Regions from separate parts of the Homo sapiens genome. Here region 1 is linked to region 2. The links are contacts of gene promoters, found by promoter capture Hi-C in human tissues and cell types (Jung and others, 2019). All regions are on one chromosome and are shown on one strand. Each heading gives the region's core, a stretch centred on a gene start or on the middle of the fragment in contact. The rest is flanking DNA. Distances are from core to core; before and after follow the strand shown. Region 1 overlaps YTHDF2 (YTH N6-methyladenosine RNA binding protein F2). Region 2 holds the start of MED18 (mediator complex subunit 18).

Evidence for each region. The method cuts DNA at HindIII sites, captures the fragments that hold promoters and counts their contacts. A contact is called where the count stands out against the background at its distance.
Region 1: a contact is called between a fragment that was not itself captured here and the fragment with the promoter of MED18 in region 2, in 1 of the 25 tissues and cell types used here (dorsolateral prefrontal cortex).

Annotation. Positions count from the first base shown.
Region 1 is chr1:28,752,465-28,755,713 of GRCh38, reverse strand. The region is part of intron 4 of YTHDF2 (YTH N6-methyladenosine RNA binding protein F2); the gene reads right to left. Among named protein-coding and RNA genes, the nearest start is that of YTHDF2, 17 kb to the right of the region's middle. RefSeq lists an enhancer at 704-1,203. The HindIII fragment of the contact is 8,261 bases long and covers 1-3,249 here.
Region 2 is chr1:28,327,508-28,330,655 of GRCh38, reverse strand. It overlaps MED18 (mediator complex subunit 18), which reads right to left and starts at 1,616. Exons shown (of 3, transcript NM_017638.3): 1 at 1,476-1,616; 2 at 1-59. RefSeq lists enhancers at 567-1,074, 1,075-1,582. The HindIII fragment of the contact is 33,273 bases long and covers 1-3,148 here.

The sequences.
Region 1 (3,249 bases), core at 144-2,643, 430 kb before region 2:
TAGCCCCTTCCTTGTTCTCTTTCTGAAACTCAAACTATTCTCTCTCAATCTCTTTCACTTGCTCCCTCTTTATTCTTCAAATTTTGTTATTTCTGGGGAACTTTTTCCATAGTCCTTTTCTCTCACTCGTGTTGGCTCTAGAACCACGCTGCAGAATTAGAACACCAGCTTTACTTTCGTATCTCATGTGCCTTTGCAAAGTTATTTACTCTTTTCTGTGTTTTAATGTTTTCATCAGTAAAACTGAGCTACTTATACCTACCTCACAAGGATACAAGAATTAAATGAACATACATTTAAATATATATTCAAGACAACTGTATGCTAGACACTGTACAGAGCATTCAATAACTGTTAGCCATTCTTATTACAAGAATCTTTGAAAAGTCAAACTCTTCCATGCCTTTACCTATCCTGAGGGTTGAAAATTCAAATTCCTGTCAACAATCTGAGCTCCAGATTCCCAGCTGCCTACTATCACCTGGCTGCTGCTACTATCACAGGCACCTGAAACTATTTCCAAAAGCCAATACAACCCCAAATCCTAACCCTAAACTGCTGCTCCTCTCATCATCTTTAATTTTTGAAAAACTAGTCAACAAATATGTCTACCACATTCTTCATATCCAGTTTCCCGTTCCCACTGTCCTGGTTCAGGCCCTCATCATCTTTTTTTCCCCAGAATACTGTAAAAGCATCTCGTTTAGTCTCTGAGCCATCTCCCACCCCTTTTTTTTTTTTTTTTTTTTTGAGCTGTCACCCAGGCTGGAATGCAGTGTTGCGATCTCGGCTCACTGTAACCTCTGCCTCCCAGGTTCAAGTGATTCTCATCCCTCAGCTCCCTGAGTAGCTGGGACTATAGGACTATAGGCACACACCACCACTCTTGGCTAATTTTTTTGTTTGTTTGAGACGAAGTTTTGCTCTCATTGCCCAGGCTGGAGTGCAGTGGAGCAATCTCGGCTCACTGCAACTGCCGCCTTCTGGTTTCAAGTGATTCTCCTGCCCCAGCCCCCTGAATACAGGCACCCACCACCACGCCCAGCTAATTTTTTAGTAGAGATGGGGTTTCACCATGTTGCCAGGCTGGTCTTGAACTCCTGACCTTGCGAACTACCCACCTCAGCCTCCCAAAGTGCTGGGATTACAGGCATGAGCCACCGCGCCCGGCCAATTTTTTTTTTGAGACACAGTCTCGCTCTTTCGCCCAGGCTGGAGTGCAGTAGCGCTATCTCAGCTCACTGCAAACTCCGCCTCCAGTGTTCACACCATTCTCCTGCCTCAGCCTCCTGAGTAGCTGGGACTACAGGCGCCCGTCACCACGCCCGGCTAATTTTTTTGTATTTTTAGTAGAGACAGTGTTTCGCCATGTTGGCCAGGCTGGTATCAAACTCATGGCCTCAAATGACCTGCCAACCTTGGCCTCCCAAAGTGCTGGAATTAGAGGCGTGAGCCAACTCACCCAGCCTCATAGATGTTTTGATAAGTTGCTTTCCTAAGCTTCCATTTGTTGATCTATAAATACAGGATACTGCCTCCCAGGTTGGTATGGGGATTAAAGTAAGGCTATGAAAGTACCTAGCATGGTGCTTAACAAGGTCAATGCTCAGTAAGTGTTTCATCCTTCCCATCCTCCAAACTGTTATTCCCTAATTAACTACCCTCCCTTACAACCAAACTAAAACACAGGTAAAGAATAAAATCCTAGGCCGAGCGCAGTGGCTCACACCTGTGATCCCAGCACTTTGGGAGGCCAAGGCAGGCAGATCACCTGAGGTCAGGAGTTTGAGACCAGCCTAGCCAACATGATGAAACCCTGTCACCACTAAAAATACAAAAATTAGCTGGGCGTGGTGACAGGCACCTGTAATCCCAGCTACTCGGGAGGCTGAGGCAGGAGAATCGCTTGAACCTGGGAGGGGGAGGCTGCAGCGAGCCAAGATCGCGCCATTGCACTCCAGCCTGGGGGACAAAGCGAGATTTTTGTCTCAGAAAAAAAAAAAAAAAAAGAATAAAATCCTGAAACTCTTCATATACTTGCCCAACCAATCTCTCCAGCGTTATCACTTACCATTCTAGACCACATTAAACTTCTCATTCTGAAAACATACCATAAGCATTCTCAAGACTATGTTTTTAACATGCTCTTACTAGAATGCCATTTTTTGGAAGACAGGGTCTCACTGTGCCCAGACTGGAGTACAGTGGTACCATCATGACTCACTGCAGACTTGACGTCCCGGGCTCAAGCAATCCTCCTGTCTCAGCCTCCTGAGCAACTAGGACTACAGGTGTGCCTCATCACACCTGGCTGATTTTTTTTTTTTTTTTTTTTTTTTTTTTTTTTTTTTTTTTGGAGAGGCAGGATTTCATTATGTTGCCTAGGCTGGTCTCAAACTCCTGGGTTCAAGTGATTCTCTTGCTGCAGCCTCCCCAAAGTGCGAGGATTACGGGCATGAGCCACTGCACCTAGCCATTTCTCTACTTTTCTATCTGGCAAACTTCATAGATCATGGAGTAGTCCATGAGCTTCGGGGTTAGAGACTCAGTGGCTCTCCAGGTGTAAGTTCCAATATACAAACATGAAACATGTTTTGAGCAACTTCTTTGCTAAACTGGGTAATAGTTTTTCAAATATTAGAATATTTCCTCAAAAAAATTTTTTTTTCTAGGGACAGTCTCCTGCTGTCACCCAGGCTGGGGTGCAGTGGCATGATCACAGCTCATTGCAGCTTTCATTTCCTGGACTCAAGCAATCCTCCTGCCTCAGCCTCCTGAGTAGCTATACTTTAGTTATGCGCCACCAAGTCTGGTTAATTTTTTTTAAATTTTTTGTAGAGACAAGGTCTCGCTATGCTGCCCAGGCTGGTCTCAAACTCCTGAGCTCAGGCAATCCTCCCACCTCAGCCTCCCAAAGTGTTGGGATTACAGGTGTGAGCCACTGTGCAGGACAAATTTTTGTGTTATTGAAAAAAAATGTTTAAGAGCTACAGTCGTGACACACAAATTTAATCTGCAATCAATATTTTCTCCATCACTATGAAGTCTAGACAATCAGCAAAAATTAAACATTGATTTATATACAGCATTTGTCAATTTCCACGATGTAACTAACAGCTGGGCCAGGCATGGTGGCTCACACCTGTAATCCCAGCACTTTGGGAGGCCGAGGCAGGCAGATCACAAGGTCAGGGGTTCGAGACCAGCCTGACCAATATGGTGAAACCTCGCTTCTACTAAAAATACAAA
Region 2 (3,148 bases), core at 367-2,866:
AAGTTGAAGACAACACAACTGGACTCAGAGCCCCCAGTCAGGTAAGGCACGGGATATACCTGGAAAAGAGTTCACTTGTTTATACATCAAAGTGGTGGAGAGAGACCAGATCTGTTGTGGCACTGGCCTTCAAATCAAAGATTCATTCATTCAAAAACGTTTGAGTATTTCCTTATATGGCCAGTTCCAGGAACTGATGACACAGAAATATAGAAAGGAGATCTGGTCATGGAGTTACAGCATTACCTTCTAGTCTCAAGTTCTGAAACCTCCACATTACCTGTGCAATCTTGAGAAAGTCCTATCTATAACCCCTCACCCTGGGACTCAATGTCTTCCTTATAAAATGAGGCCAGTGATTTTTTTTTTTTTTTTTTTTTGAGACGGAGTTTCACTCTTGTCGCCCAGGCTGGAGTGCAATGGCGCAATCTCTGTTCACTGCAGCCTCTGCCTCCCAGGTTCAAGCGATTCTCCTGTCTCAGCCTCCCGAGTAGCTGGGATTACAGGCGCCCGCAACCAAGCCCAGCTAATTTTTTTTGTATTTTTAGTAGAGACGGGGTTTCGTCATGTTGGCCAGGTTGGCCTCGAACTCCTGGCCTCAGGTGATACTCAGGTGATCCGGCCTCCCAAAGTGCTGGCATTACAGGTGTGAGCCACCGTGCCCGGCCAAAGGCCAGTGATTTTTAACTCCCAAGGCTATGTGGCTCAAACGAGATAATAAAGAGGCAACAAAATTCAGAAGAACTGAAAAAGTGACTTAAGGGACCTTCGTTTTATAGATGAGGATATTGAGACTTGGAGAGGGACAGAAGGATACACACAGCAAGTTGGTAGCAGAGTTTGGACCAAACTAACATCTAGGCGTTCTATCTCTCTGAAAATGCCTTCCCCCGTACGCTTTTCTTTTTTGGTGACAGGATCTCGCTCTGTAGCCCAGGCTGCAGTGCAGTGGGGAGTTCCTAGCTCACTATAACCTCGAACTCCTGGGCTCAAGCCGAGTAGCTGGGACTACTACAGGCGGGAGACCACACTGCGGCTAGCCTAAAAATGCCTTTTAAAGAGAGCCAAGGCCGGGCGCGGTGGCTCACGCCTGTAATCTCAGTACTTTGGGAGGCCGAGGCCGGCGGATCAACTGGAGGTTGGGAGTTCGAGACCAGCCTGACCAACATGAAGAAACCCCGACTCTACTAAAAATACAAAAAATTAGCCAGGCCTGGTGGCGAGCGCCTGTAATCCCAGCTCCTCAGGAGGCTGAGGCAGGAGAATCGCTTGAACCCGGAAGGCGAGGTTGCGGTGAGCCGAGATCGCGCCATTGCACTCCAGCCTGGGCAACAAGAGCGAAACTCCGTCTCAAAAAAAAAAAAAAAAAAAAAAAGAGAGAGAGAGCCAAGGGGAAGTTATTTTAAGATGATGGTATATAGGTCCTTCTAAGCCGGCATCCATAACACGTATCCAATTAAACACTAGAAGCACACCTCCTTGAGGCTGTAGTGTCTTCTCGAGAAGCCGGGAATTATATCCACCCGCGCACCTAGGAGCTTTTGAGCGACGATTAGATACCAGCACTCCGGTTACCCGAGCCCGGGAAGCCCCCAGATCGGTGCAACCAGCCAACTTCCTCCTCTTCTCACTTCCGGTCGGAAGCCGACGTCTCACAAACCTCGAAACTGCCGTTCCCAAACGTATGGGTGCCGAGAAGGCCGAAGAGCTTCATTGCGGACAGACAATCAGAGGCGCATGCGCAAAATTCCGGGCTGCTGTATGAAAGATGGCGGCCTCCTTTGGCGCTTTCCTCCGGGCGCTACCTGGATCCTTGACGTCATAGGCCATGCTCTAGGAAAATCTTTTTAGGTTTGACAACCTGGAGATGTATTTGTGTAGAAAGTCTCTTGGAACTGATAGGACTTACAGAGATTATAGTGGGTTTCAAAAGAAAAAAGAACTGAGGGGTTGGGCGCGGTGGCTCACGCCTGTAACCCCAGCACTTTGGGAGGCCGAGGCAGGCGGATCACTTGAGGTCAGGAGTTCGAGACCAGCCTGGCCAAGATGGTAAAACTCCGTCTCCATTAAAAATACAAAAATTAGCCGGGCATGGTGACGCGCGCCTGTAATCCCAGCTACTAGGGAGGCTGAGGTGGGAGAATCGCTTGAACGCGGGAGGCGGAAGTTGCAGCGAACCGAGATCGCGCCACTGCATTGTAGCCTGGGCTACAGAGAGAGACTCTGTCTCAAAAAAAAAAAAGAGTCTGGAAAAGGAGTAGGTCCAGATCCAGGAGTACTCTGCAGTGCCATACCAAAGAATACATGTGAGCTTTAAAAGAACCCTGGCTACAACATGGAGAAAAGTTTGGGAAAGGAGAGAGCCTAGAGAAAAAAGACCAGGCCGGACACGGTGGCTCAGGCCTGTAATCCCAGCACTTTGGGAGGCCAAGGCGGGCAGATGGCTTGAGTTCAGGAATTCAAGACCAGCCTGAACAACATGGTGAAACCCTGTGTCTACAAAAAATACAAAAAATTAGCTGAACGTAGTGGCTCGCACCTGCAGTCCCAGCTACTTGGGAGGCTGAGGTGGGAGGATTGCTTGAGTCCAGGAGGCAGAGGTTGCAGTGAGCTGAGATAGCGCCACTGCACTCCAGCCTGTGCAACAGAGGGAGATCCTGTCTGGAAAAAAATTAAAGAAAAACGACCAGTTAGGCGCTTTGGTACAACTCCAGCTGAGAAACAAATGTCAGAAAAAGATTTTAAAAATGTAAAAAGAGGACAGGCGCGGTGGCTCACGCCTGTAATCCCAGCACTTTGGGAGGCCGAGGGGGGTGGATCACGAGGTCAGGAGATCGAGACCATCCTGGCTAACGGTGAAACCCTGTCTCTACTAAAAATACAGAAAATTAGCTGGGCGTAGTGGCGGGCGCCTGTAGTCCCAGCTACTTGGGAGGCTGAGTCAGGAGAATGGTGTGAACCTGGGAGACAGAGCTGGCAGTGAGCCGAGATCGCACCACTGCACTTTAGCCTGGGCGACAGAGCAAGACTCCGGCTCAAAAAAAAAAGTAAAAAGAGGAAATTAGCCGGGTGTGGTGGCACACGCCTGTAGTCCCAGCTACTCAGGTGGCTCAGGTGGTCAAGAGACCAAAATTGCTTGAACCCAGGA